4 separate regions of the Homo sapiens genome follow, and regions 1, 2 and 3 are each linked to region 4. Evidence: promoter capture Hi-C in human tissues and cell types (Jung and others, 2019). All regions are on one chromosome and are shown on one strand. Each heading gives the region's core, a stretch centred on a gene start or on the middle of the fragment in contact. The rest is flanking DNA. Distances are from core to core; before and after follow the strand shown.

The links. The method cuts DNA at HindIII sites, captures the fragments that hold promoters and counts their contacts. A contact is called where the count stands out against the background at its distance.
Region 1: a contact is called between a fragment that was not itself captured here and the fragment with the promoter of ITGA11 in region 4, in 1 of the 25 tissues and cell types used here (H1 embryonic stem cells).
Region 2: a fragment that was not itself captured here is called in contact with the fragment with the promoter of ITGA11 in region 4 in 1 of the 25 tissues and cell types used here (mesenchymal stem cells).
Region 3: a contact is called between a fragment that was not itself captured here and the fragment with the promoter of ITGA11 in region 4, in 1 of the 25 tissues and cell types used here (mesenchymal stem cells).

The regions. Positions count from the first base shown.
Region 1 is chr15:68,267,607-68,275,358 of GRCh38, reverse strand. No RefSeq gene overlaps it. Among named protein-coding and RNA genes, the nearest start is that of FEM1B, 6.3 kb to the left of the region's middle. RefSeq lists an enhancer at 2,026-3,225. The HindIII fragment of the contact is 3,939 bases long and covers 39-3,977 here.
Region 2 is chr15:68,655,082-68,663,016 of GRCh38, reverse strand. All of the region lies in intron 2 of CORO2B (coronin 2B), which reads right to left. All of the region lies in intron 1 of LOC124903514 (a long non-coding RNA gene), which reads right to left. Among named protein-coding and RNA genes, the nearest start is that of CORO2B, 80 kb to the right of the region's middle. The HindIII fragment of the contact is 3,710 bases long and covers 13-3,722 here.
Region 3 is chr15:68,673,356-68,681,074 of GRCh38, reverse strand. The region is part of intron 2 of CORO2B (coronin 2B); the gene reads right to left. Among named protein-coding and RNA genes, the nearest start is that of CORO2B, 98 kb to the right of the region's middle. RefSeq lists enhancers at 7,012-7,061, 6,636-7,136. The HindIII fragment of the contact is 4,249 bases long and covers 808-5,056 here.
Region 4 is chr15:68,426,869-68,434,683 of GRCh38, reverse strand. ITGA11 (integrin subunit alpha 11) reads left to right here and starts at 2,521. Exons shown (of 30, transcript NM_001004439.2): 1 at 2,521-2,669. The coding sequence starts at 2,618. RefSeq lists a silencer at 520-814 and an enhancer at 3,361-4,120. The HindIII fragment of the contact is 3,029 bases long and covers 40-3,068 here.

The DNA of each region.
Region 1 (7,752 bases), core at 759-3,258, 160 kb after region 4:
GAGAGGATATGTAAACAGGACAAGGCTGCTTTCCCAAAGGCCAGGGCCCAGAAATAGTTCCTTGTGCTTCTGACCTATTTCCTCCTCCCTGGACAGAAAGCCACTGAGCAAATGTGCAATAGTAAAACATAACTACAAGTAGCTATATCCTGATGGAGATTGATTTGCTGATGACAACAAACTGCAGCCTTCCACCTGGAAATAAGGCAGGACTGACCTTTCCCCGCACTTTGCTTCCTAGGCATTATAGTGGCCTATGAGCAGAATTTGCCATGCCTTCCATGGAGCATTCTTTTTCCAAGTCAGGTCAATCCAGCCTGCAGCTGTAAGTCAATGAAGTTCCTCAGATAAAGTGCATGCAAAAATGTTATTTTTCAAGCACCAGTAAAGACACTTGTTTTAATCTTATACCCCTTGCACGTACTATAGAGGAAGAGGGTGACCCTTAGTGTTGAATAGATCTGGGTGGGATTTCCATATCTATGGACAAGCTGTGGCTCTGGGCCAGTTTCTACATCTGTACAATGGAGTCAAATCTTTTCCTTGCAGGGCTGGTGTGATGGGAACATGCCAGCTTCTTCACCAAGCCTGGTCCTATGAAGGGGTGCCTCAGTACATACTAGTTTCTCTTTCCTCTTATTCCCCTCCTGCCCACCTGACAAAATCCTTCTATTTTGCCCACGTTACAAAACTCTTCTATTTTGCCCACCTGGCAAAATCCTTCTATTTTGCCATTAACCTGCTCAAGAAAGGACTTTGTCCCCATCTGCATTTTCTCTGCAAGAATGTGCCCGCCTCTAAGAATGGAGAGTAAACCCATGGTATACAAGGGGCTGGGGAGGCTAATTCACAAGAGTTCAGAAATTCCAACAGAGCTGCACAAGGATGATGTCAGAAATAAGAGTGATAACTCAGAAACCAGTGACAGTCTATCAGCCCGGTTTCACAAAACTGGCAGCCCACTGGCCTCTGCCTCCTCTGCCTCCCACTCTCCTTGCCTTTCCCTGAAAAGCAAATCTAATGATTGGCAAAAACAAAACCAAGGCTGGAGGAGAGGGGGTGGCTAGTCTGTGTTATTTTGCGAAGCCATTCATCTCTGCCAGATTTAGGTTTACCAGGAAAGTAGGTTGAAATAGACGTGTGTCTGCTTTGTTCTAACCCCATTCTTCTCTGGATAGTGGTACCAATCGGTATCCTGGGCTTATAATGACAGAAATATGTGTGCCAGGCATCACAGTGAACATTTCACACAGATGAGCATGTTATATTTACACAAGCTTCTGAAGTACATGCCATTATTATCATTCCCATTCTTCAGATGAAGAAACTAAGGCAGAGAGCTGTGGAGTAGCTTGTCTGTGGCCTCATAACTGGAGTGTGGGAGAACATCAGGATTTGAACTCAGGCTGTCTGGCCACCTCCACCCCACCTGCTACCAACCTTCTGTGCCCTCTCAGTTCTCCCCACCCATCATGTTCTTTGCAGTCAGGACCCCAGCTTTAGGTGCCCAAAGCTTTCTGTGGTCCTGGTCACTTCACTTGGGCTAAGGGGCCAATTAACTTACTGAGCCATCCCATGCCAATGGGGAAGGGCTGGAGGAAACCCCACCACCATCCCACACATAGTCTGGACAGCCCTCACTCCTACCCCAGGAGCACAGATCCACATCCAGAGCAAATGCCATCTCATCCTGGACATCTTCCTTGATTTTGCCCCTGAGGTCTATACCACTTTATACCTCTCTTGGGACCTTTGCCTCTTTCCAAAAATTACTCGTGTCTGTACAAGATTTCATAGTCTCCAAAGGCCTTTCCCATCCACCTAGTCCAGCTTCTTCCCAGGCCTTTTAACCTCCTTCTATCACTGGGATGGCATTCAGCATGGTAATTCAGCACCTGAGCTCTGGAATCCAGCCTGCAGCATCCTAACTTCACCACTTGCTAGCTGTGTGCCGCTGGGCAAGGTACTTGCTCAACTTCTCAACATCTCGGTTTCCCTATCTGTGAAACTGGGATAATAATAATGTCACCCTTATCTGGTTGGAGGGTTGAATGAGATAAGCATACAAGCATACACAGCACCCAAACTCAGTAAGTGCTGGCTGCTGTTATCATCTCACTAAATCTTCTCCCAAAACTCCTGTGGGATTAAACCTTCCCACCACCCTCCCACACACACTCTGGTTCTTGTCATCAGTAAAAATGCATCTGAACCAGATGACCTTTAAGCTTTCTTCCAGCTCCATCAACCTATGATTCTACCATGAATCACAGTTATTATGGACACATTTTAACTCTTTATGCCATAGCAATCTCCTGAAGGCCCAGCCCTTAACATAGGGCCTTGTATACAGTTGGCTGTCCTGCCAGGGTGATGTTAGCACCTAACAATAGTCCTTGCCTCATCCACGCACTGGGATGAACAAATGAGGAAATTCCTATATAGCATTTAGTCCAGTGCCTGGCACTGAGTAAGCCCCTAATAAGTCATGGTTTCTATTATTATCCCATCTGATACTAATAAGATTCCCAAACATGGTCATTAAAAGCATAGGAGCCACACTGGGTGTGGACTCATCCTAGTGCTGATCCTGTGAGACCTTGAGCAAGTTAATTCACCACCCCATGCCTCAATTTCCTCCTCTGTAATATGGATGTGATTATGAGTAACTTCCTAATAAGGTTGTTGTGAGTTAATAGAAGGGCACTTAGAATTGTGCCTGGCATCTGCTTGGTATATGTAAGTGCTTTTTGTCATCATTTACAGATGTCAGCGGCACCAAGGGACATCCCCAAGCAGTAGTGGAGTTGGGATCCAAACCTAAGCTTGACTGATTCCAGAGCCTCAGTGCTAATATTAGGAGATATTGCTGCCCTGTGTGATCCCATGCATTTCAGCAGGAGCCTCCTTGTCCACTCCTTTCAGTTGTCTTCCCTGGCAAAGGAGTTTTTATAATGGTGATTTCAGGATGGGAGGAGGGTGAGTCAGCACCAGAGAGACCTAAGGATGCCCTCAAATCATACCACAGGAGAAGCAGCCTTCTTCTCACCTGTGTCTGGTCGTATCACTTTAGCATTCCATCAGGACCTGGCCCAGAAGCCCAGAAACATGGCAACACCCACACCTGCCATCTAGCCTGGAAGCTGCAGCGAAACCCTCAGCACTCACGCTGATGTCACATTTGAGGCTAGTCCCAGCTCTTCCATGGAGACAGGCCCTGGCCTTGAGGCCATTTCCCATTTCTGAGGCATGATTCACTTAGCAGACAAGACCAGACAGACTCGTTCATGTTCATACCTACCGGAGGAAGGAGAGGTGGGTGGTGGATCCAGGGGGAGAAGAAAAACAAACGGGGTTAGGGCTGGCAGGACTCTCGCTGCTGGGCTGCAGGGGCGGAGCAGGCAGGCAGAGCGCCTGACTTAGGAGCCGTGCCCAGCATGGCCACCCACTCACCCATTTATCTTCCTTGCAGTCAAATGTATTGATTTAAACAGGAATCCGTCTGTGCTTCTAAAGCCCCAGAAACGCACTTACATCTCACGTGTAGCACAATGATTTTCAAAGAGGTTTCCCACAAATAATTTTAATTTGGGTTACTTTTTAAATATTTGATTCTCTTATTAACAAAGCAACACATGCTTATGAGGAATGCTGGGACAACTTTTCAAATGTCAATTTTAAATATATACAGAATTATACCACCAGCAATAAGATTTTCAGTAAATTTCCCACTAGTCTGTTTTCTGAGTCCACAGACATATATAGTTCATGAAACAAAATTGGAGCCATACCACACAAAGAGTTCCATATCTTTTTTTCTTTTCATTTAACATAAAGTCATTGGCATTTTTCAATGTTACCAAATATTCTGCTACAGCAATTCATAATGGCTGCATTTATCAGAATAGATGTGTTATAATTTCGGTGGCCATGCCCTGATTGTTGGACTTTCAAGATGTTTACGAAAATATTACTATTAAAATAACAGTGCCACGAACACCTCTTTACTTGTATTTTTGTCTGTATATCTGATTATGTGCCAATAATAAATTTCTAGTAATGGAATTACTAGCTCACAGGATTTGAATATTTCTGAATATATCTAGCCAAATTACTTTCCAGAAAATACATCCAGTTTACACTCCCCCGGCAATGTGTTCGAATGTTCTCACTCTGTTTTGAGCTTGTGAGCCAGTGAGTTAGGTAACAAGGTCTCATGTTACAGACGAAGAAAACTGGGCACAAAAAGATTAAGTAGCCAGCTCCAGTTCGTACAACTGAGATCCAAGCCCTGGCCTCCTGGAGTTAGTGTCAGGGGCCTTCCAGACAAGGAGAGCTCTGAAGAGGTTTCCTGACTAATGGAGTTGGATAGAACTTTCTTTTTTTTTTTTTTTGAGACGGAGTCTCACTCTGTCACCCAGGCTGGAGTGCAGTGGCGACATCTTGGCTCACTGCAACCTCTGCCTCCCAGGTTCAAGTGATTCTCCTGCCTCAGCCTCCCGAGTAGCTGGGATTACAGACATGTGCCCCTATGCCCAGCTAATTTTTATATTTTTAATAAGTAGAGACAGGTTTTCAGTATGTTGGCCAGACTGGTCTAGAACTCCTGACCTCAGGTGATCCACCTGCCTCAGCCTCCCAAAGTGCTGGGATAATAGGTGTGAGCCATCATGCCTGGCCGCCTTCTATTATTTATTAGAGACATTAGTCTGTAACTTCTCCTTTTTTAATAACTTTGATATATTTTTATATTAAAGTTATGCTGGCCTGAAAGTTGAGATATTTTCCCTTTTTTCTCTAGTATTTTCTTTGAGGGAAGGTTTCTAATTATGGATTAAAGTTTTTAAAGTAGATGTAGGTATATGTACATTTTGTACTTATGTTCATTTTGGTAAATTGGGCTTCTCAAAGAATTGATTCACTTCCTTCAAATTTTCAAATTTATTAGCGCACATTTTTTATAATATCTTTTTATCATTTTAATATCTGTAGCATCTGTTTTTATAGCCTGCTTTTTTCATTCCTGATACTGATAATTCATATTTTCTCTTTGTTTTTCTTAGTCTTACTACTATTTATCAATTTTTTTTTTTTTTTTTGGATACAAGGTCTCACTCTGTCACCCAAGCTTGAATACAGTGAAATGATCACAGTTCACTGCAGCCTTAGCTTTGGCTCAAGCGATCCTCCCACCTCAGCCTCCCAAAGTGCTAGGAGTACAGGCATGAGCCACTGTGACTGGCCTATCAGTTTTTTTAACCTTTTCAAAGAATGAATGTTTGGATTTATTTTCCATATTGCAAATTTTTTTCTATTTCACAGATTTTTGCTCTTTATTATTTCTTTGCTTTTTCTTTATTTGGTCCTAATTTGGTTGCTCTTCTTTTAGATTCCTGATTTTCAATTCTTAGTGTTTTTGTTTGTTTGTTTTTTTTTTTTTTTGAGATGGAGTCTTGCTCTGTCACCCAGGCTGGAGTGCAGTGGCACAACCTTGGCTCACTGCAACCTCCTCCTCCCGGGTTCAAGCGATTCTCCTGCCTCAGCCTCCCGAGTAGCTGGGATTACAGGTGTGCACCACCATGCCCAGCTAATTTTTGTATTTTTGGTAGAGACAGGGTTTTACCATGTTGGCCAGGCTGGTCTTGAATTTCTCACCTCAAGTGATCCACCTGCCTCAGCCTCCCACAGTGCTGGGATTACAGGCTTGAGCCACCTCGCCCAGCCAATTCTTAGTCTTTTTTTTTTTTTTTTTTTTTTTTTGAGATGGAGTCTTGCTCTGTCACCCAGGCTGGAGTACAGTGGCACAACCTTGGCTCACTGCAACCTCCTCCTCCCGGGTTCAAGCGATTCTCCTGCCTCAGCCTCCCAAGTAGCTGGGATTACAGGTGTGCACCACCATGCCCAGCTAATTTTTGTATTTTTGGTAGAGACAGGGTTTTACCATGTTGGCCAGGCTGGTCTTGAATTTCTAACCTCAAGTGATCCACCTGCCTCAGCCTCCCAAAGTGCTGGGATTACAGGCATGAGCCACCTCGCCCAGCCAATTCTTAGTCTTTTTTTTTTTTTTTTTCATTTCTGATATATACATTTAAGGCCATACATTTTCCTCTAATCACTGTCTGGCTGACATCCTACAGTTTATAAAATAAAATTATATGTGTTTATTACAAGAATCAAATTAAGAAATTGTATCAGCTTCTCTAACATACTTATTTACACAGCAAATATAATATACCAAGATGATGCAAACCTTTCAAATATGTCAAGCCACAGTTTTCTTTGCTTTTTTTTCTTAGTTTAAAATATATTGTTGTTCTTCCACCTTATCTTTGTTTTCATAAGTGGTTTTTCTCTTATCCTGCCTTATAATTTTGCTAGGTTTGGTGATGTAGGAAATCAAAAAAGGATTTAGACAAGAACAAATGAAGTTATGGTCCGAACAATTTTGAAGCAATAGATTTACATTTGAGAACTTTTAGTTGTAATGATCCTGCAAGTTTTGGTTTGTTGTGTTTTCATTATTATTCAGTTCAAAATATTTTCTAAATCTCATGTGATTTTTTTCATTTTATTCATAAGTTATTTAGAAGTCCTATCAAATCTCAAAGCGGTGGGGGATTGTATTATTAGCTACATATGACAGATGTTTGGCTTAATTCCACAGTCGAAGAACACAATCTGTAGGATTTCATTCCTTTGATATTTGTTGAGGTTTGATCATGTCTCAGCATGTGGTGTATCTGTGGGAAATGTTCAATGTGTACTTGAGAAGAATGTGCTTTCTGTACTTGTTTATAATATCTAAAACAAAAGAGTGATTATCTTCTAGGTTATATAAAAACTCAGGCAAATCGGTAGGAAAAAAAAATGCCACAGGAAACCCTATAGAAAAAAATGGCATAGGAAAAGAACAAGCTATTCACAGAAGCAAAAGCCCAAAATAGAAGAGATACTCAAATTTATTAGTAATCAGAGGAACGCAATCACAAGATACCACTTTTTATACTTGGACGTCAGAATGGTAAAAATTAGATAGGCAAAATCAAATGTTAGTGTTTATCACAGAGAACTCACAAAGGTTTTTAGGTACAAAGACCTTCCTCATGGCTTTATCTGAGTGGTGGGGAAGTGAGGGCAACTTAGGTATTCATTATCACAGATGGAGAAGAACCATACGATGGATGCTCACTCTGGGAAGATTGGTTAGTGGCTCACCAAGTCTATCTCCTTTTCTTCCAAGACACACAAATAGACTACATTTTCCAGTCTTCATTGCAGTTAGGCACAACCATTTGACTGAGGTCTAGTCAAAGAATATGAATGGAAATGATGTTGCTATTCCAGGCCCATGAAAACCTCTCACACAAGATATTTATGCCTTTCACCTTCTGCCAATGCAATGCAGGTGGATGCGACCATCTTGGAAGCCATGTTAAAGAAGGCAGAGCCACAAGATAGATGCAGCCGGGTTCTCTAAATCACCACTGGGGAGAAACCCACACACCAATGAGGAATACCCATTTTTTGGATTTTAAGAGCAAGAAATAAACTTCAATTGTGTTCAGCATTATGTGCTTTGGGGTTTGTTTATTACAGCAACTAGTGTTACTGCAACTAATACATAGTACACTATGAAAATACAATGCTGGAGAAAGAAGTGATGGAATAGATATGCATAAAACACCATTGATAGGCCTCACAAACATAGGGTTAAGTGCAGAAGTACAGAAACAGAATGAAATTTATAACTAG
Region 2 (7,935 bases), core at 618-3,117, 230 kb before region 4:
AAAGCTCACGATAAACCAGGTAGCCTAGAAATATTTTAAAAAATTTAAGAAAAAGTCCTGTGTTAGCCTGTTTAGGAAAAAAAAAATTAAGAAAAAGGTATGTCATAAATGCATAGAATATCTGTAGATACTAGTCTGTCTTATCATTTACTGGCATAAAATATATACAAATCTATTATAAGAAGCTGAAATTTATCAAAACATACACACACTTTCAGATCATACATGGTGTCATTTGCAGTTGAGAAAAATGTAAACAAATGTTAATGACACAGTATTAAGTCATAACTGCACCAAATTGTGGCATCTACTGTACTACTGTAATAATTTTGTAGCCTGCTCTTGTTGCTATTGCAGGAAGCTCAAGTGTTGCAAGTATCTGCTTAAAATGCATGTGAGGCTAATCATCTCCATGTATATGATTCAATTCATCTCTCCAATAAATTGCATATGGCAATACAAAGTGATCTCTTGAGGTTCTTGATGTATTTTTCATCGTGTTTAGTGCAATAGTGTAAACCTTGAATGACAACTGCAGACCTCATTTCAAGATAAATGAATCCAGCTTAAGGACTATTGTAAAAAAATAAAAGGAAATTCATGAAGTTATTCCTGAGTTATGCCAGCAGGCATGAAAACCCTGCACTTTTCAAAATACCTTATCTCATTGTGAAAATACAGCTTTTATGTGGGTGCAGGATTACTATAAGAAAGGTATAACCTATAGATTCTAATATGATTCCGGAAAAGGTGAAATCATTATATGAAAACAAAGCAAAAGGAAGTTGAACGATCTAAAGTCAGATAATTTAACATCAGCAAAGGGTGGTTTGATCATTTTGAAAGAAAATTGGCTCATAAAATGTCGTGATAACAGGAAAAGCAGCTTCTGCCAACCAGGAAGCAGCAGATGAGTTCCTAGAAGCCATTAAGAAAATCACTGAAGAGAAAGGACATCTGCCTAAACAGATTTTTATTAATTAATTAATTTATTTATTTATTTATTTATTGAGACAGGGTCTTACTCTGTCACCCAGGCTGGAGTGCAATGGCATGATCTCAGCTCACTGAAACCTCCACCACTTGGGTTCAAGTGATTCTCCTGCTTCAGCCTCCTGAGTACCTGGGATTACAGGTGCACGCCATCACACCTGGCTAATTTTTGTATTTTTAGTAGAGATGGGGTTTTGCCATGCTGGCTAGGCTGGTCTTGAACTCCTGACTTCAAGAGATCCACTTGCCTCGGCCTCCCAAAGTGCTAGGATTACAGGCGTGAGCTACCACGCCAGGCCCTGAACAGGTTTTTAATGCAGACGAAAGTGCCCTGTTCTGGAAAAATATGCCATTAAGAACACTTGTTAGTGAGGAAAAGAAACAAGCATCAGGATTTAAGGCAGAAAGGGGTAGGCTAACTCTACTGTTTTGTGCAAATGTAGTCAGGTTTATGATCAGGACTACCCTTATCTGTAAAGCTGCTAACTCCCAAGTCTTGAAGGGAAAAGATTAACACCAGCTGGTAGTCTTTGTACAAGAAGGCCTGGATAACCAGAACACTTTTTCTGGATTGGTTGAATGTTTTGTCCCTGAAAAACTGCCTTTTAAAGTTCTTTTGATATTGGACAATATCTCTGGCCACCCAGAACCCCATGAGTTCAACTTGCTCCTAAACACAATGTTTCTAATTCAGCCTCTAGATCAGGAAATCATAAGAACTCCTAAGACTTATTACACATGGTACTGACCAGATGCGGTGGCTCACGCCTATAATCCCAGCACTTTGGGAGGCCGAGGTGGGTGGATCACTTGAGGACAGGAGTTCGAGACCAGCCTGGCCAACATGGTGAAACCCCGTCTCTACTAAAAATACAAAAATTAGCTGGGCATGGTGGCGGGCACCTGTAATCCCAGCCACTGGGGAGGTTGAGGCAGGAGAATCGCTTGAACCCAGGAGATGGAGGTTGCAGTGAGCTGACATCACTCCAGTGCACTCCAGCCTGGGCGACAGCAAAAGTCTGTCTCAAAAAACAGAAAAAAAAAAAAGACTCATTACACATTACACATGGTACTGTATGGAAAAGATTGTCAACACTAAGAAAGAGAACCTCTATAGAGAGAACAACATGAAAATCTGGAAGGATTACATAGTTGAAGATACCATCATTGTTACAGAAAAAGCTGTGAAAGCCATCAAGCCTGAGGCAATAAATTCCCACTGGAGAAAACGGTGTCCAGATGTTGTGCATGACCTCACCGGATTTACCACAGAGCCATTCAAGGAAATAATGAAAGAGATTGTGGATATGTAAAAAAGGTGTGTAGGAGTGAAGGGTTCAAAATATGAATCTTGGCTGGGTGCAGTGGCTCATACCTGTAATCCCAACACTTTGGGAAGCCAAGATGGGTGGATTGCTTGAGCCTAGGAGTTCAAGACCAGCCTGGACAACATGGTGAAACCCCATCTCTACAAAAAATAAAAAAATTAGCCAGGTGTGGTGGTGCACACCTGAAGTCCCAGCTACTTGGGAGGCTGAGGTGAGAGCATCACTTGAGCCCAGGACGTTGAGGCTACAGTGAGCCATGATCATGCCACTGCACTCCAGCCACGGCAACAGAGCAAGAGCCTGCCAAAAAAAAGATATGAATCTTGAAGAAGCTTAAGAGCTAACAGACATCACACTAGAGGAATGAACAGAAGACAACTTGATGGAGATGAGTGCTTCTGAAGCAATGCCAGACAATGAGGAAGAAGACATAGAAGAAGCAGCACCAGCAAACAAATTGACATTAGACAATCTGGCAGAAGGGTCCAATTATTCAAGACTGCTCTTGACTTCTTTCATGACATGAACCCTCCCATGATACAGGCACATGGTCAAAGGAGAATTGGTACCATATAGAAACATTTTTAGAGAAATGAAAAAGCCAGACAGAAATTACGATATATTTCTGTAAAGTTACACTGAGGGTGCCTGCCTGCCTCTCTTGTCTTCCCTTCCACCTCCACCACCACTTCCACCTCTGACAGCAATGCCAACCCCTCTTCTTCCTCCTCCCCTTCAGCCTACTCAGCATGAAGATGAGGATAGACTTTTTTTGTTTTTTGAAACACAGTCTCGCTCTGTCACCCAGGCCTTGGCTCACTGCAACCTCCACCTCCCGGGTTCGAGTGATTCTCCTGCCTCAGCCTTCTGAGTAGCTGGGACTACAGGCGTGCACCACCACACCTGGCTAATTTTTGTATTTTTAGTAGAGACGGGGTTTCGCCATGTTGGCCAGGCTGGTCTTGAACACTTGACCTCAGGTGATCTGTCCGCCTCGGCCTCCCAAAGTGCTGGGATTACAGGAATGAGCCACCATGTCTGGCCGAGGATAGACTTTTATAATGATTCACTTCCACTTAATGAATAGTAAATATATTTTCTCTTCCTTATGGTTTTCTTTTTAAAAATTTAATCAAAAAAATTTTTTTAGAGAGGGGCTCTTACTGTGTTGCCTGGGCTGGTCTCGAACTCTTGGCCTCAAGTGATCTTCCTGCCTGGGCCTCCCAATGTGCTGGGATTACAGGCATGAGCCACTGTGTCCAGTCAGTTTCCTTAATAACATTTTCTCTAGCTGACTTATTGTGAGAATTTAGTATATACACATATAACATGTAAGATATGTGTTAATTGACTGTTTATGTTATTGGTAAGGCTTCTGGTCAGCAGAGTTAAGTTTTGGGGGAGTTGAAAGTTATATGTGGATTTTCAATGGTGCAGGGGTCAGCGCCCTTATCCCTCACACTCTTCCAGGTTTAAGTATGTACATATAAATAATTTTGGGAAAGACACTCCAGTAACTGCTAACAGCAATTCCCTCCTACTGGAGGAACTGAGTAACTGGAAGCTAGGATTGAAAGGCAGACCGTCCACTGCAGGTCCTTTGCTTCTGAAGTTTAAACTGTCCAACTGCATGAAGGTTTTGCCTAAATATAAGTACTTATTTATAAATAGATAAGTTATTCTAAGTGGGTAGAGTTGTATGCATGTGGATATTGGTGGGCGAGGGCAATCCAGAGGGAGAAACAGCCGGGGCAAAGGCGTGTAGGAGAGAAAGCTGGCTGCAAAGCCGCCTGTGCCTGGGGACAGCGACAGCACTTCACAAACACTGCACAGGGGCTCATCAGGCCTCCATGTTGCATTCTGATCAGCGGGAGCAGTTCACAGTCCCAGGTATAAGCTCTCTTTGGACAGGCCCATGGCACTGAGTCAGCACTGAGCTGGGGTACTTTATCTACTCTGTTTCATTTACACCTTGTTCCAATCCCAAAGAGTAGGTCTTAGGAATGATGTCTACTGGACAAAGAAGAATGAAGCTCAGGGAGGTTAAGTAACTTGCCCAAGGTCACAGAGCCATTAAGCAGCTCGGGTGGACCTAGGGCTGTGTATCACTTCCTTTCCAGAATTCTATAGATCAGGGTGGGAAAAAGTGGGGAGTGGGTGCAAAGAGTTAAGCACCCAAGAGTGAGCAACCAGACTCTTCCCTGCATTTTCTTGGCCAGCCCCTCCCGCTTCTACCCAGGTTGTTATCTGGCCTAGGCCCCAACCACAACCCCCACTGGCCCCTCACTGGCCGAAGGCAGGAAGGAGGCACAGATGGCAGGCGGGGACGAGGCCCCCAGCCAGGCTCACCCAGCTGTCGCTTTGGAGAGCACCATGCATCTCGCCCTCCTCCTCCATTGAACAATTGGGAGCTGGCCAGCCTGGCCCCAGCTGTTCCCTCTCCCTGGTCCAGGGCTCCTACCGACCCAAGCTTCTGGGGTTTTTGTCTCCAGGGGAGGAGAAGCACAGAGTTTCAGAATGTCAGAGCTGGCGAGACCTTGGAGGACAACGGGCCCAACATCTCATTTTACAGATGGGGAAACTGAGGCCTAGAAAGGCAAAGGAACTCACCCAAGGTTACAAAGAACCAGGCAGAGAAGCTAGGTTTCCTAACTGCCAGTGAAGCTTAGGAGTTTGGGGAGCCCCACAGGAGTGAAGGGTGCTCAGGTCTATTGCATTGCTCCCTCCCCACCAACTTTCAGCCACAGCAGTTCTGCCTGTCCTGATTTTATACAATAATATTTCCCTCTGATTTTATTTCCAAGGTCTTTAATCTGAGTGGGGCCACAGACCCTGTTAGGAGGTTTGTGAGTCTGGGTAGGAGACAACTTACATCTATATTTTCACTAGCCTCTAACTGAAACCTCACATTTCTTTCGTGTATAAATGTAGGCAGCAAACCCCAACAGGATTACTTGAACCTATAATGTGTTCATCAACAGGTATCACAGATATTTTCAGATAACTTCTGCTACTATTAACTCAAAATATGTATGCACATCATGACTTTGAAATTAGAGTCGTTACTGTGTCCTACACTCAATCATGGGGCGTAATGCATTGATAGAAAAGCACTTATTACAGCACAATTCTGGTATACATTTTGATAACTGTATTTCCTTTTTTTTTTTTTTTTTTTGAGACAGGATCTCATTTTGTCACCTAAGCTAGAGTGCAGTGGCATGAGCACAGCTCACTGCAGCCTCAACCTCCCCGGGTTCAAGTGATGCTCCAACCTCAGCCTCCCGAGTATCTGGGACTACTAGCATATGCCACCACACCTGGCTAATTTTTTTGTATTTCGTAGAGATGGTGTCTTGCTATGTTGCCCAGGTTGGTCCCAAGCTCCTGCACTCAAGCAATCCTTCCACCTTGGCCTCCCAAAGTGCTGGGATTACAGGTGTGAGCCACTGTACCTGGCCTGTGTTTCAAAATAATTGGCTTCTTGCGTAATCCTATTTTGTATACTTAAAAACTTTATTCTGTGAAGGGGTCTATGGGTTTTTCTAGACTGCCAAAAGGATCTATCCCTGACTCCCCCAAAAGTTCATCTGTTTTATTTGAATAAAATTATTCAGTGTTAAAAACTAAAGTTTGCAAACTTTTGTACTCCATCTGTGACCTCATAACATTAAGGCAGAATTCTCATGAGATAAATGAGCAAACTGGGGATCGGGGGGACTGGACCCTAGGTGGGGAGGGTGCATCAGAGCCCAGCAAGCCAGGATCACACCAGCAGACTTGCACTGAAAGGTTTGCCCTGAGCCAGGCACCTTCCAGGCTTTATGTAACACCTCACTGAATCCTCAGAACAGCCTCGGGGTTAGGACTAGCATGTCTCTCATTCTACAGCGAAGGAAACTGAGGCACAGATCAGTTAGGTAACTTGCCCAAAGAACATAGCTGGCAAATGGTAGAGTCAGGGTTGAAAGCCAGGCCAGCTGATGCAGACCCTGCACCCCTAATCACTGGGCACACTGCCTCCCTGTCTAGGTAGATGGAAGCCTCTCACGGGAAGTCTCTAAGGTGTTGCTGTTGTCTGGGTGCTTCTCTTGGTGGGGGAAGGAGGAGTGGGAAATGGGATGGTTCTGAAGCATTTGCTGCCAGGATCAATCATCTGACACATGGGGCACTAACTAGCTGTGCAACCTTGACCAAGTGTCTTGCCCTTTCTGGGCCTCAGTGTCTCCATCTATAAATTGCAGAGTTTTAAGCACTACCCCTCCATACCTTCCACCTCTCATGCTCACCTGACGACCCACTTGGAAACTCAGGCACAGGTTGCTTAGCAACTGAAATCAAGGTCTTGGCTGAGTGGAATGGAAAGGGGGGAGACAAGAAGTGCTATGTGATGCTGATGTCACAGATCTGTCTCTTGACACGTGAGGCTGTGAATGCTGGGACCAACCCTTCTTCCTCCCACATCCCTCCATCAAGTCAAGAGCCTTGGGATGGGAGCGGGTTGGTTGGGTCGGGGGGCGGGGGGGACGGTGCGAGGGGGAGGGGGAGGGGTGGGCAGCAGTCAGGGACATGAGGAAGGCCATCTGGAAGTGCAAACTGCCCTAAGGACTAAATCAGGCCTGAAGTTTCTCAGGCAGGGCAAACAGGCAGCCATTGTTCTGGAAGCTGCCAGGAGAAAGGCCAGTGGTAGGAGCCTTGGCCAAGGCCTCTGGGCCCCAACTGCCCCCAGGGAGATGCTCTGTTTCAAGCCAGGCAACCTTAGTTCCACTCCCCACACCCCTCCTGCACCCTAAATCATTTTTGTTCCTTGAAGTGCTGAGAGTCACTGACACATGAGGGTGCTTCCAAAGCTACAGGCTCAGATGAGACACAACAGCAAGTCTCTACCTGGCCTCCTGTTGAGGGGCTTGGGGATGGCCGCCCTTTGTGGACAGATCTCCTGCAGACTGGAATTCCACTATTACCAACACATTCCTTTGGGTCTCAAGAGTTTGGTCTCCTTAAATCTCACCCTAACCTTAACCAAATGCAAATTCCCTTAGTAAAGGAAAGCCATTGTTATCATCGACACCTTAGGAGATGTGAGTGTGGACTCTGAGAAGTGGCTGAGGGCAAGGATTCTGGGGAAGGGGGCCAGAGGGTGTCCAGGCATGTCATGCAACCTTGGATAAGACACTTCTCCTTTTTGGGATCAGGACTTGTCGTGGGCACAACAAGGCGCTTGGAATCTATGATCCCTGGGGTCCCCTCTGACTCTGGCATTGTGTCAATGTAAGACTGGGATTGGGGCACTGGGGAGGAGGGCCGGCGAGAGGCATGGACTGTGAGGACTGTGTGGCTTCAGCCTGGCTCAGAGCACAGAGCTCATGCTCATTCAATGGGGCTGTGCCTCCATCTGAGCCAGCTAGACTCCAAGGAGCCTCCGTCTCAATTCCAGCACCGTTTTCTCCCACCAACCTGGATCTTTTAATAATAGAAGAAATATAGCTCAGATTTGTTGAGCACTTGCTGTACGCCAGGCACTGTGGTAAAACCTTTACATGCCTTCCCTCATTAAACCCTGGCAGGCAGTCCAACTCCAGATAAACAGGCAGGCTGGCTTGAGAGGGGCACC
Region 3 (7,719 bases), core at 1,683-4,182, 250 kb before region 4:
TGCCCGGCTAATTTTTGTATTTTTGTAGAGACAGGGTTTCACCATGTTGGCCAGGCTGGTCTAGAACTCTTGACCTCAGGCGATCTGCCTACCTCAGCCTCCCAAAGTGCTGGTATTACAGGCGTGAGCCACCGCGCCCGGCCCCTTTTCCCTAAGCTTTTCTAAGCCCTTCTTCCCACAGCATTTGTGATCATGCTGGCTGTCATTTACTGAGGGCTTCCCATGGGTCAGACCTGAAGCCAAGTGTTATTTCAATTTTTTAGCACAATAACCTTACGAAGTACAGGTCATTGTGTCCATTTTGCAGATGAGGAAACTGAAGCTTAGTGAGATTAACTAACACAGCGGCAAAGCCAGGATGCAACCCTTAGTCTTTCTGACCTTCAAATTAGAATGTAAGCTCCATGCAGGGTGGTGCTCTGTCTTGTCCTCTGCTATAACCCCAGTGTCTGGAATCGTGCTGGACACAAATGGTAAGCTCTCACCAAATTGTGTTGAATTAATGATGCCATAGACGGTGGACCTAATCAGGATCCCCTGTACAGTTGCATGGACTGTACACTGCACAACTCAAGGGGGTACCATTTGCATGGTGCAGAGCCTTCTGTTGTGCTCTGGGCCTAACCATGACACTGTCCTGCTTCTCCATTTAGCATTGTCTTGCGTTGTTTGCTTTATTTCACGGGTGTTTGTTGCCCTCCCAAGAGATTATCCACACTTTCATCTTAAATGAGATAATCATGGAGGGTTTCCAGCAGAGTGTGAGACATGAATGAAACCTCAGTGGTACAGACATGCTTCTTACACCCTCTGGTCTCAAACACAATGCCAGTCTATATTCAGGATCAAATGACTCCCCCAGCCACATGCTGCCAGCTGCAAAGATACTGTTGTCATTGAAGTGGGAGTGAGTCACATGGCACCATCCACATGCTCCCAGGCTGGGCCACTCTGCCTTGCCTCTTAGGGATAGCCACCGAGAGAACCGCCATCCACCAAGAGCGTGCACACTCTGCGGGGGCCCAGTGCCCACCATCTTCCCTGCCCAGACACCATAGAGACTCAGCCCTGGGCCATCACTGTCCCCATGGAAGTCATGGAATCTGTGGGCAGGGCAGGGGACCTCTGGCTCAGAACTTCAGCCTTGCTCCATCAGGGATATGTAAGGGGCCAGAGAAGGAGATGCACCACCTCCGAGGTAATGACCCTGGGAATCTATGGCCTTGAAAATGTCCTTTACATTGTAAGTGAACAGCCCCATGCTGAGATGACCAGTCCCTCCCCATCCCAAGCTTTCTCTCTGCTGCATCTGTGGAGGTTGGTTGATCCTCAGGGGCTGGGGTAGTGGGAGAAGGAACATATTGCACTCCGAACCCCTAGAAGTCAGGGTCTACTTTGGCTCAGCTCACGCTAATGACTGACTGAGCAAGTTCCTTCCTCCCAGGGCTTCAGTTTCCACATGAGCCAATAAATACAAACTCACTGGGCACGGGGCCTGGCACCACAGAAGCACTCGATAAATGGTAGTTATTATTATCATCTGCAAAATGCAGGTTAGCTTCCTCCCTCTGCCTCTGTGCTCTGCACAGCCCCTCGGACCAGACCCTCCTTTGTACTGTGCTTAATGGCTGTCATGGCTGTCACCCTCACCAAGGGTGAGCTTTCCATGGGTGGGGTATGTGTCTAACCCATCTTTGTACAGGCCTAGCATGGCCAGCTGCCCCGGTGCATGTGCTCAGAAAGTGTCTGCACAGTGGACCTGAACCATCAGGGCCCTTCCAGCTCTGCCAGTCTGGGGTTATATGTTGAATCTCCACCCAGCTCACCAAACACAGACAAGAACCCTCCCTGGGCCTGGAGCTGGCCACCTAGAGATGAATAAGATGGGATGATTCCCTTGGATGTCACTTCCACCACATTCTGTCTGTTTTAGTCACTACTGTATCCCAACACCCAGCACGGTGCCAGGCCCATAGTAGAGTCTCAATAAATATCTACTGAACTCATCCACGAGTGAGAAGCAGGTGATATTTCTGGGAAGGCCCTCACTCTGCCTGACCAGCTCGGAGGGCCAGGTCAGGGACTGGGTCCTACTGTCAAGCCAAGTTGGGCTGCTGGAGGGGCAGGGAGGGGAACACACCCTGAGTACAGCGGTCCCCTGGCCTCTAGCCAGATCCACTATCTGTCCAGTAACCTGGGGCTACATTTTCTACTCTAGTTCTTCCCTATCTGAGCACTGGAGGACCGGCAATGAAGGCTGGAGTTTGGGTGTGTGGTGCCTGAGTTTGGGGCTCCCAGGGGACATGGTGTGGGCAGCTCTTCTGAGCCTGGTGCTGGCTATGCCACCTGCTGATCCCTGGACACGCTCAGCTGCCTTCTTTTGTTTTCTTTTTTCTTTTTTGAAGTGGAGTCTCGCTCTTTTGCCCAGGCTGGAGTACAGTGGCACAATCTCAGCTCACTGCAACCTCTGTCTCCTGGGTTCAAATGATTCTCCTGCCTCAGTCCACTGAGTAGCTGGGATAACAGGCACCCACCACCTCACCTGGCTAATTTTTGTATTTTTAGTAGAGATGGGGTTTCACCATGTTGGCCAGGCTGGTCTTGAACTCCTGACCTCAGGTGATCTGCCCAAGTCGGCCTCCCAAAGTGTTGGGATTACAGGTGTGAACCACCGCCTGCTGTCTTTTCTCTGTTATTGCCCGACAGGCCTGGGGCACCCTTCTGGGGGCTCAGTGTGAGGGAGGGGAGAAAGGGCTCACACTGACACAGAAATTGGGGAATTCCTCCTCCTCCTCCCCCTGCTCTTACTATGGAGTGCTAGGCTGTTCTGCCTGACTCCTTCTCTGACAACAGGACCTGGGTCTGCTGTCCTCCCAGACTCAGTGGGAAAGGTCCTAACCCCGCCAGTGTTGTAGGAACAGCCAGCAGCCAGTGGCACGGGTGCTGTACAAGTCATCTGGGGGGAAAGTCAAGTGCATGTTAGGCCTTTGTCAGGAAGCAACAGACCTTGCAGGGGAAAGGAGAGCTCCTGTTAATTATGGAGGGGCAAGGCAGCCTCCTGGGCCAGGGGGCTGGGCCCCACCAGGCCTCCGAGAGGCAGGAGATTTTCATGAAATAACAGGAAACCCTCAATCCAGCCAACGTTCATGTTTTTCCATGGCTGCAGAGAGCCTGTGGCTGGCTGAACCAGGGGATCAGGACCTGTTCTTGACACAGTAGAGGGGACTTGGCCACCCAGCTATGGTGAAGGAGAGGGTGAAGGCAGGAACAGACATATCAGGAGAGGGGAGGCAGGAGACACACAGAATGGGGCTGGGCAGTGGGTGAGGAACCCTCCAACCTGGTAGGGTTGTTTTATCTGCAGAATGGACAGGGGCTGGCACAGGGTGGACAATTTCCCAACACGAAGTCACCAAGGCCTATGACAAAGACAGCTATTTTCTTCCTGCCCATGGAGGTTTTGAAGGTCCGCTCCCAAGTAACCTTTGCCTCTCCAAGCAAATCCCTGAAAACCCCTGGAGCACAGCCTCAGCATCCCCCCGCCACCATCTGGCCTTTCCCAGAAAAGCTGCCTCCCAGCTGCCCAAGGAAATGCTTTCTCTGTGGCAGAGAGGGGCCCTTGTCCTTAGCCATTGCATGACAGGGAGAGGGTCTCAGCTCCACCCTCTGCTGTGTGGCCTTCAGCTAGCCCTATCCCTGTCTGGGCCTCATCTGTATCATCTGTACAATGGGGCTTTGTGCGGGGTGACCTTTGAGGTTCTGGAATTTTCTTACTTGCAGTCTCTGCTCAGGCCCAGTGGGAATGACCAGCAGTGCACCCTGCAAATATAGTGATGGGGCTTGGGGTTCAATTGGGAGCTTTGCAGGAAGGGCAGAGGAGCAAGCTTTGGAGAGGAAGAGGGAGCACTGACAGATGGCTTGGAGGAGAGGGAGGGTGTGCCTCCGGGGCTCCAGGCCTGGCGGGGAGCACAGTCCCGAAAGTGCTGCAAAAACAGGTCTTGGACTGGGCACCGTGGCTCATGCCTGTAATCCCAGCATTTTGGGAGGCTGAAATGGGAGGATCACTTGAACACAGGAGTTCAAGACCAGCCTGGGCAGCACAGTGAAACCTGTCTCTACAAAAAAAAGAAAAAAAATTAGCCAGGCATGGTGGTGCACACCTCTGGTCCCAGCTACTTGGGGAGGCTGATGTGGGAGGGTCCATTGATCCAGGAAGTAGAGACTGCAGTGAGTCGTGATGGTGCCACTGTACTCCACCCTGGGTGACAGAGCATGACTCTGTCTTAAAAAAAAAAATAATCCAGAAGAAACAAAAAACACAGATCTTGGGCCACCTCTAGACCTCCTGAGTCAGGTCAAGGCCTCTGGGAACAAGCATTTTAAACACTCTCCTCAGGTGGCTGCGGTGTGCGCATGCTAGCACAGAGGTGACAGCAGGACTTGGGAAACACGGCTGAGACCTGCACTCCAGCTTGAGAGTCTCATGGACTCTAGTTCAAGTCCTGCCTCTGCAGCTTTCTGAGAATAGCAGCCCCATGTCACAGGGGAACAGGGACAGTGTATGGAGGTGTCTGGCATTTGACGGGTTTAGGCAGCGGTGGTTATCCTTGCAGACCCCTTACCCTCTGGCACCTCAGTCCTGACAGCTGAGGAAGGTGACCTGAAGCTAGATTGGCCCCCGGAAATTAAAGGCTAAGGTGGGCCAGGAGGCAGAAGTCCTGCTTCAATTCAGAATCCTCTGGAGGGTTTGTGCAGCTCATCATGACTCCTATGTCCCTCACCCACAGATGCGGACGCTAGCAGTCATGTTAGCACCACAAGTGTGGGCCACTGCCAGCACACACACGCTAAACTGATTGGATCATAATGGGCATCTAATTCAAGCTGAGCCAATCAGATATCCTTATCTGCCCACACTGTGCCCTTGCACACACAAACACACAGCTGATTGGGCCAGGATGAGCGTCTAACTCAAGCTGAGCCTATCAGATTCCCTGACCACTGTATTTAAATTCAGCCACCCCTCCACCTGCCCACACCCCTGTCCCCTTCCCTAATCAATTTCTCCTCCTAGCATTATTCTATTCTATTCTATATTCTATTCCATTTCTGTTCTATTATTATACTATATTATACCCTATAATCCACTTTATTATCTGTCTCCTCCGCTAGCGTGTAGGCCCCATGAAGGCTGGGGTTTTTGTCTGTTTTGTTCACTGCTGGGTCCCCAGTGCTTCCCACAGTGCCGGGTACAGAGAAGGTGCTCAGTAAAAATTTGTTAAGTGAATAAATTCTCTCTTCCAGGAGGTGGAATTGCAGCTAACATTTACAGAGAACCTACAATGTGTTAATGTTTTCTAAGCACTTTAAATATGTACTAACTTGTTATGATCTCCATGACCTTGGTTTTACAAAAATAGATCTATAAACATCTTATTTGAGTCTCACTACCTCTGTGGAGGAGTTATCATTTCCCTAACTTCAGAGATGAGACAACAGAGGCTCAGAAGGGTTCATGGTCTTGCTCAAGATCACGCAGCAACTAAGTGGCAAAGCTCAAACTAGAATTTACAACTTCACCTCCTACCTCCTCAAGTCCCCATTTCTTTCCAGACACAGGATACCCCTCCTCTGCCTAGAAGATGCTATTCCTGCCCTCAGAGGCTTTACTTTCCCTGGGAAGGTGAGCTAGAGGAAGAGACAGCTCCAAAGGCCCAAGCAGAGGCTGAACTGACCGAGGAAAGGGAATTGACACAGCTTGTTTCCTGTCCTCAAAGTTACTGTGAAATCCTCATGAATGACTGACAGCAAAATGGGAGGCAGCTGCCGCAAGGGGAATTCCAGAGCATGCTGAAGCGGGGTACAAACATTCCAATTCATGCTGGACTAGAAGTATTTTCGCCATCATGGCTGCCTTCTTCAGATTACCTTCTGCTCTATTTCCCAATTTCAGTGTGGCTCACGGAGCTGAGAACAATACTGTAGTTCCAGCCTGTGGTCTGACCAGTACAAAAGGAAGGGGGAAGAGTTCCTCTTTCTTCTTGCCTAAGTCTTTTTGCCTTATAAAAGAATCTCTGACTCTCTAGCTGACTGATACCTGAAGTTCTACTATTAGGGATTCATTCCTTTCGTGCTCCACCTTGCTGCTCTCAAAATAAAATAAAAATACCCCTAAAGAGAGTGTAGTGGGAGATAATATTGGTCACTGTGGACTCATTCTGAATAAGCTTTGAGAATATTCCTGAAGGCAGGTCTGAGGGAAAAGAGCATGAGGGCACTGGTGGAAAGGCTGGAGGGAGAAAGAGGGAATAAGGTAGTTGGGATCAGGGCAAACTCTTACTCCAACCCTGCCTGGTGAGGTCATGGAGCACTGCTGAGTTTGATGTTCTTCGCGTGTGCTCCACGGAGAAGCCACTGCCCACGAGCCTTTCTCTGGCGGTCAGGGCCCCTACTCTTCCACCCCACCGCCAGTGCAAGTCCAGTTTGGGGAGGGCACTTGCTTGAGGTCACCCAGTGAGTAAGAGGGTGATGGCTGTGCCAGGCCACACCCAGGTTTGCAGACACCCAGGCCAGTGCCCCATCCCACCTGTCAGTTCTGGAGACCTTGCTCACAGGAAGGGGCAGCAGGGTCACCTGAAGACCCAGGGCACACAATCACCTGGGGCATTCGCTGGCTTCAGTCCCGAGTTACAGACACTGGCGGGCATTCTGATGGCCTCGTCTGTCTTCCGGGCACATGTGTGCAGAGAATATATACTACCCACCGTCCCGAAGCCCCCAGCAGGGAGCTCTCAGACCCCAAAGGGTTGCTTCTTCTCTGGAAAGCCTCGCCTAGCCAGAGGGCAGCATCGTGGCCAAGCAGGAAAGCTGTGCTACCAGCATTCCACCAGCAGAGGGCGGTGGCTGCGCTACTCTCAGCCACATCCAAGCTCTTAGACTCTGTGGGAGGGAACTGAGCCGACCAGGACCCGAGACACACACGCAGCCTCTCTCCCGCTCCCAGTCAACCCCAGCTCACAACTGTGCCCATCACTTAGAAAATTCTTCATAATGAGATGAAAATCCGCCTCCTTCTAACTTTTGCCATAAGCTCCTACTGCTGCTTCTGGGTCCACCGAAAAAGTCAACCCTTCTTTTATTTGTCAGCTCTTGGGAGCTGGAGTCCCTTTCCTAGTTAGTCACCCACGGTGCTGTGGGTCTTAGCGGGACACTGTCCTTTTTTTTTTTTTTTTTTTTTTTAGACGGAGTCTCGCTCTGTTGCCCAGGCTGGAGTGCAGTGGCGCCATCTCGGCTCACTGCAAACTCTGTCTCCCCCGTTCAGGTGATTCTCCTGCCTCAGCCTCCTGAGTAGCTGGGATTACAGGCGCATGCCACCACGCCTGGCTAATTTTTGTATTTTTAGTAGAAACGGGGTTTCACTATGTTGGCCAGCTGGTCTCGAACTCCTGACCTTAAGTGATTCGCCTGCCTTGGCCTCCTAAAGTGCTGGGATTACAGGCATGTGCCACGGAGCCCGGCCAAGACACTTTCCTTTTTTAAGAAAATTTTATTTTATTGAGACAGTGTCTCACTCTGTGTGCCCAGGCCAGAGTACAGTGGCATGATCATAGTTTACTGCAGCCTCGACTGTCCAGTCTCAAGCAATTCTCCTACCTCAGCCTCCCAAGTAGCCGGACTCAGGCATGCTTGGCTAATTTTTTATTTTTTTCATTTGAGAGA
Region 4 (7,815 bases), core at 1,272-3,771:
GCACAGTTTATGGCATGTGAATAAATAAATCAGTTAAAACACTGTGTACATGTAAAGAGTTATTATTATTATTCAACAGAAATCACAGCTTTCATAAAGCCCTTCACCAAATTCTCTGCAGTTCTCCAGCCTTAGAGTCTGGATTGTGCACTTGTCACTCATATGCTGCTGCCTTGGGTGTGATTTAAATAATGTTTAATAGTGATGAAATAATAAATGGTTTTAAATAGATTAATAAATAACAGATTATGATTAAATAAATACATGGTTATGTCTTGTCTCCTCAGCTCCATCACCAGCTGCCCTAGTGTGGGGTTCTCCTTCCGTGTGTCCTACAGAGCACAGGGGCACAGTAGGCACTCTGTAGGATCTGTTGAAAGAACAAATGAGGGCACACCTCTCCCCTCACCCTCCCACATTACACAAAAGCACACAGAGTGATCCTCAGGACCCCCATTCCCCAGGCACCTGTGAGGACGGTGAAGGTGAATGAATGGTAGAATTGTTACCAGCGAGACCAGCAGCAGCGCAGCTAGGACAGCCACTACAGTGCGCCCCTTCAGCAAGCAGCATGCAGACTCTGAGCACAAGCTGCAGACCACCCACACGTCAGAGGTGCCTGGGGCACCCACCAGCATGCCCTGATCCTTGGGGAATTTGCATTCTTTGCACGTGCTCCAGGTCGTTCTGATGCACCTGGAGATTTGTGCAAGGCAGGAATGTGGGCTGCAGCCCATTCCCTAGCTGTAGGGGTGTTCTACATTCAACTCAGCTGGCTTAAACTCAACTCAGTGAAGAGGACTCACTGTCGTATAACTGATAAGTCCCAAGGGGAGTGGGGTTAAGGGGTGGCTTCATTCAGGAGTTCAACAAGATCCTCCATTCTGTCATCCAGTGTCCACCTCATCTCAAGGCCAGATCCTCCTTCCCTACCCTGACCCTGTCAACTTCTGAGCCTACAAAGTTCCTTGTCCCAGGCTGGGAGAGGAGGCAGGAGTGGGAGAGGTGAGGAGAGAGAGTTAGTTCATTTGTTTGTTTGTTCTAGGGGCTCTTTTAGAAAGGCAAGAAAGCTTGCTTCCCAAAAAAACTTTTTCTTTTGTCATATTGCCCTTTCTGAAACGATGGGCTGGGAAGGGCAACATACTGATTCATTTCAGCCTGAACCGCATGCCTCCTTACACACACACACACACACACACACACACCAGGGACGGAATCACCTTCCCCGAGTCTGTGGCTGAATGGGTGAGGTGAAGATGAAGTAAAACCCAGATAGCCAACCGAAAGATAGTGAGGTTGGGAGACGAGCACAAGCCCACTTCACTTATGTGAACCTGGGTCTTCTCAAACTCCAGCTCATCTTCAGGGGCCCTGACTGAACATCACCTCCTCTGGGAAGCCCTTCCAATACCTCCCAGATAGAAAACTCTATCCTTTGTGCACCCACACACCACCTGTACTCACCCATCCATCCACCCGCCCACCTACTTTGTTCCTGGGTGTTAGGGGCTGAGTACTCCATTGTGAACCAGAGATTTCTACCCTGATGGTGTTTTCAGTCTGCACAGGAGAGAAAAGTTAAATGATCACACCAATTGATGCCTTGCTTCTCTACTAAGCACAATGAAGAGAAATGAGGGAGAGCGGGCTGGGGAATATCAGCATGTGTCTGGGACTCAACCTGGTGGGGACGGGAAGAGGGGGTGAAGGAAGCCTTTCCTGAGAAAGTGGGGGAAGGGCGCTCTGCTGTGGCTTTCCCTGCATCTTGGCCTTCCTACCCTCTGCCTCGGCTTCCTCCATTGCTGGAAAAGCCTCCACAAGCGCGGTGGAGGTCCGGGGCCTGGATTTAAAGCTCTTGAGATAAATGTGCATTGAATTTAACTACCAGTGATTAGAAGAGGGAAAGAAGGTGGCAGGGTTACAAAGAAGAGCTTCACGTTAGGTTAAGAGGGGGTGCACGGTGTCCCTGGGTGCTTTGGAATGCCTCAGGTGTGGAGGCTCAGGGAGTGGCAGTGGAGGCGAATCTGCATGTATTCCAGGGTCAGAAGAAACACTAGCCTCTACAATTCAAGCCGCAGGGTGCAGGGAGACACGGGGATGTCTTAGAATGGACCTTTGAGGGACATCCACTCACTTGGCCAAGGGAGACCTGCGTTCCAGCAGGTGTTCCTGAGCCAGCTTGGGTACCCTCTGAGTTTTGTGAATCTCTTTTCACTGGGAAATGGGAATAAAAACCACTTTTCCTGAACAGAATCTGACTGAGGCGGTGCGGTGCTACACTGGTGAGGGGGTTCCCAGGAGCGGTTCTCTGGAGTTTTCTCCAGAGGCTGACGTGGGGTTGGCGGAGAAGGAGCGCTGCACAGGCGCGTCGAGGCAGCGCGCCGCCTGCCCAGGTGGCAGAGCGGCCGAGACTGGCCCAGAGCCCGAGCCGGAGTGGTGTCCGGCGCCCCTCCCCTCCGCTCGAGCCCTCCCACTTCCTCTGAATGAGCCGCAGCTGTCAGGGAGCCCGGCGCCCCGCGCAGTGCAGGCTGCAGGCGCCGCGCCGAGGAGGCTGCCGCTCTGGCTTGCCGCCCCCCGCCGCCGCTGCACACCGGACCCAGCCGCCGTGCCGCGGGCCATGGACCTGCCCAGGGGCCTGGTGGTGGCCTGGGCGCTCAGCCTGTGGCCAGGTAGGTGCCCACCCTCTGCCTCCCCTTGCCTCTCGGAGTCCCTCCCTGGGCCCTCGGGGCTTGGATCCAGCGGCCAGGATCGGGACGCGACCCTCCTCCCAGGGTCAGACCTCAGCTGCTCTTGGGGACGTGGGTCCCCCAGGGACTGGCCCCAGTCTAGCGGTTCAGTCAAGTTTCGCTAAAGAGGGAGGTGCGAAGGCTATTGAAAGCCGGGACTCTTTGGTGTGTTTGGGAAGAGTTGAAGAGGCTTGAGTTGAAAAGCTCCCAGATCTGGTGGCCCTCCTGGGCGCCTTAGGTGCCTCCAAGGCCCATGCCGGGGTTCCCGCACGGCTGCCAGGGGCACTCGGGTGTCCCGGGAGCGCCGAGGGCGCACGGCCCCGGCTGGGGAAGGGAATCAGCGCCAAGAGAGTGTGCCCTGGCTGCCCTCCTGCCTGGCTCCGGGGAAGCATCTCAAAGTTTGGAGAGCCGGGCGCGGCGGCCCCGGAGGGCTGAAGGGTGGGGGTGAGGGCTGCGCAGAGTGCCTCCGGCCAAAGACAGAGCAAAGCCCCGGGGCGATGGCCGGTAGGCGGGGGCTAGCTCTCGTCTGCCCGGCCAGCAGCGGCGGGACACAGTCGCGCAGCGCAGGACCCCCGAAACGTTACCTGACACCCGGGGTAGGGACCCGGCATTGCCTCCCAACCCGCGCTCGGAATTATGCAATTATTCAATAATCTGGGGAAAGCCGCCGTCGCCTAGACGCGCGCCGCCGCCTAATGCACTCCAGGTGTCGGGGCGCGGCAGGAACCTCCGGCCCGAGGGGCGCGCGGCTGGGAGCGGGAAGCCAGCCCTGAGCTCTCCGCCCTAGGGTACCCTGGCCCCGGCCGTCCCACACCGGGCTCCCCGGCTCCACCCTCCACGCGGGGCGGCTGCCAGTGATGCTGTTCTGCGGAAGACGGCCAAGTGCTCCGGCAAGGGCCAGCGCCTCGGTTACTGGCCGGGTGTGGGCGCTCAACCTTGCCTCCCCTTCTGCGTGGGCTCCAGGCCCGAGCTGGGGCCAGTAGTGGGGGTCAGATGCGGTGGTAGTGGGAGAGGTGCCCTCAGGGAGCTCAGGTGGAGACCCCTATCCCGCAGCCGCTTGCCCCAGTCCCCGGGTACCACGCGAAGCAAGTCCACCCTCCTGTCGGCCTACAGAGGAGCTTCTCAGAGGGCCCATGGTTGAAAGGGCCTCTGGCTAGTGGAATCCTAGAGTCACAGTTTAAAACAATCATTGATACATTGAGTTGTGGGGGCTTGGAAGGGAGAGCAGGGGAAGAACTGCCACCAGGCCAATATGCAACTAGAAGCCAGCTGCGGGAGGAGGCCAAGCCCATTTAGGTGTGTTTAGACAGGAGGGGAGAATCTTCTCCAGGAACTGTCCTCATATCACTAGGAGATCCAGCCACAAGAAAAGAGACGCACTCCTGTGTGACTCCAGATAGGTGGCTGCATCAGAACCTTGGGAAGGAGTGGCTGCCTTAGGGGCTAGGGACAGCCTGGACCTCAGGAAGCTAAGAGCAATGGCTTTGGAATCAGACCTGGCTTCCACTTCTGGCTCTGCACCCTGCTAGCTGTTCAATCTTGGACTGGTTATGCGACCTTTCCAACAGGTTTCCTTATGTGAAGAATGGAGACACAAATTCCGTGTCCTGTAAAGTTGTCAGGATGCACTAAGGCACTGTAAGAAAGGCCCTTAACACAGGGCTGGGTGCACAGTAGGCTTTAATCAATGGTTGTTAATGTTGTTGCTACTCAAGGAGGAGGGGGCAGAGAATGACATTAAAGGACCTCTGAAGACACAGGATTTGTGACTCAGAGCTCCGCTTATATGGCGAAAACCACTCCTGAGTTATGTCTGGTCAGTTGCATTCTTGAAATATGGGATTCATTAAACATATCAATCAATGTTGGAACAATGACATCTGCTTGCAAGGAGCTGGGGGTGGGGCCCTAGCGTGTGTGCAATCTGGGTCCTGCCTGTAACTGAGAATAAGCCAAGGCCAGGGAAAGCTAAACAGAGGCACCAGGGAGTGAATGGCTTGGGGAAACCAAGGGCTGGGTGTTCAAACAAGAGAAGTTCAATTTCAGCCAGATAAGCAAGGAAGGCTTCCTGGAGGAGGAGATATCATTTGAACTGGCCCTGGAAAAGTGTGTAGAGTGTGCATGGGCCTGAAAGTGGGAATGTTCATATTTTGGAGTATTATTTTCTGAGACTAGTTAAAGAAGATGATGAATATTTTAAAACCACTCTGGTCAGTGTGGACTTTGAAGACTAGAAGGGTCTCAGGGATCATTGGGTTCACTCCTCAGGCTCCAGGACAGGACTGATGTTGATACCTCATCCATGCATCACATGAATTCAATGTGAGGATTACCAGGAAGCTTGTCTACTGGTGATGGCAGTTTGGCTGGGCAGGGAACCTGTCAGAGGCCAAGTTGAGGGTGAGACCTCAGAGCATCTACTCTCCCAGAGCTCCAGCTGCAGGCTGGACAGCGTGATGGGGTAGACAAAACTAACAGGAAAGCCTAAAAAAAAAGTAATCAAGTCCAAAGAGAGAGATCCATTGACCAGAGCTTTACAGTCATAACCTATCTGTAGGAAGGGTGATGATTCTTAGAAGCATAATCTTTGCTGAGCACCTGTTATCTGCCAGGCCCCATAAAGACACAAAGTGAGATCAGACACAGCGTAAGGGTGGAGGCCCTGGAGTTTCACTGCCTGGGATTGGCCTAGCCCCTGCCGGTTAGGGCTCTGTGCTCTTGGCAAGTTACTCCATGGCTCTGTGCCTCAGTTTCCTCACCTACAAAGTGGGGGTAATAATAGAACTTAGAGTTATCACAAAGATTAATGCTTAGAAAGTGCCAGGCATGTATTAAGCACTCAAGGAGGTTGTCTTCTCCAACATCATCAGCAGCAGCAGTAGCACTCAAGATATTGACTATTCAGGATCTAAGGACACAGAGATATAACTTTCAAACTCAAGTTCTCAAGAGAAGTTTAGAGGAAGTACATTGAAGAATCAGAGGAGACATACATGCCAGGGCCCCAAATGAGTGAAGACTTTCCTAGTCCCTCCCGCAAAGCCCTGGCCCAAACTCTTGATCATAATAAGAACTCAGGGTTGTTGTTTTGTTTGTTTGTTTACCATCGGGGCTGTCTTGAAGTCAGTATGCTCTTGATGTGGGTGTATTGTGGTGTGGAAAAGGAGAAGGCCCATACCATGCAACATGGCCCTTGTGGGTAGGGGTCCTACCCAACAGAAAGCAACCTGTGGAAAAGCACAGTGCTAGACACCACAGGTGTACAAAGGCTCCAGAGGTCCAAGACTTGCTCCCAGCCTCTCCTTCCCAGTGGAGAGCAGGGAAGAAGGGAAAGTTTGTCACTTTGCCACCCCATTGCCCACTTTGACAGCCAAGCCCCTCAGCTGCCATTAGCTGAGGAGCTTCTGGATCTTTCCATATCACAAGCAGACCCTGGAGTCTCACTCTTTTTCTGCTTACTCACCATGACCCCATCTCTACCCCACAGTGGACCCCCAGAGAGGGGATGTCTATCTCCATGCTCTTCCCACCATTCCCAGCCCATCCACACAGGGCTGTGAGCCCTGGAAGAACTCAGACAGTATCTTACCTCTCAACCTTGCCCTCTCTGAACCTCTTTTTCCACCCTCCTGTAGTGGGGAGCTCTTCCTTCTTCTAACAGCAGGGACCTTCCCTTGCATTCTCCCTCCCTTCCACCAACACCCCCAGCTCCTATCACTTAGGATAAAAATATGTTCTAAGCTGAGCTGGCTTTGCTCTTGCTATGCAGAAGGGAATTTGGGGAATTTTAAAAGCCCCTGTTTCTTCTCCACAATGCCTGACTTTGGGTGTTATTGTCTCACCATGGGCTTCCAGAGCTTACTTTGGGGGTCAAAGTCGAACATTGTTCTAGGATCCATCATAACCCTCCCCAGGCAGTGATGGGCTCTGGCTGACTCAGGGAAGGTCAGCTACAAAATGAGCCTTAAAAATCCTCTAATATGGTTCAAAAATGGTATCTCTGCTGATCCTCATCACTGAAGTCCCCTTCCAGGCCCACCCACTCCCCACCAACTGTATGTAGGCTACCACCAAGGATTCATAGCCATTTGGAACTTTTCCCTAAGCAGCTGTGAGCTCCAAAGACACCCACACATCTTCAGCATGGAGTGCTTTCTATAGGAGCTGTGGTCCAAGGGCGACCCTCCACAACCCCATCATGCAGATCCTAACTGTGTGAATTCTTTGTCAAATGCCCATTAAGTTTGTTACCACTGACAGGAGAAGGAGAGGAGGAGACTGGTGCTGGTCATCTTGTAAATCTAAAATAAGTGAGCTGCAAAAAAATTCCATGGAGAGTTTTCATACTATATACTTAAGATCTGAGTCACACGACGTGTGAAATCCCACCTGGAGGAAAAAGTCAGTGAGGCCAAACCCCCTCCCTGCTGCCTCTCACTTCCTCCTTCACTGAAGCACTCACCAAGCAGCAGAAATAATTGGCATGTGCATGGGCTTAGGACCTAGACTGCCCGGATGCAAATCCTTTCTACCTGGGTGACTCTGGGATAAGCCCCCAGGCCTCAGTTTTCTCAACTGTAAAATGGGCAAAATAACAACTTCATAGGACAACAATCAGGTTAAATGTCCATATGTAATTCATTTGTGTCAAGTGCTGAGAACAGTGTCTGGCACCCAATAAGCCCTCAGCTAACAGAAGCATTATTACTCTTCCCATCATTTAATATTTGATTGATGTCAGGCACTGTGTCAAGCACTTTCTCACATCTCAATAAGGCCTTGCTACAGTTGCACAAAGTCACTGCTACAATTCTGCCATTTCCAGGTTACACATAGGAAGTTAAAAGGCTCATCCAAGGTCATGTCGATAGAGTAAGAGGCATTGTTGGGATTTGTCTGACCCCCAGGCCACTGCCTTTTTTTTTTTTTTTTTTTTTTTTTTTTTGAGACAGTCTTGCTCTGTCGCCCAGGCTGGAGTGCAGTGGCATGATCTCGGCTCATTGCAACCTCCACCTCCCAGGTTCAAGTGATTCTTCTGCCTCAGCTTCCTGAGTAGCTGGGATTACAGGCCTGTGCTACCATACCCAGC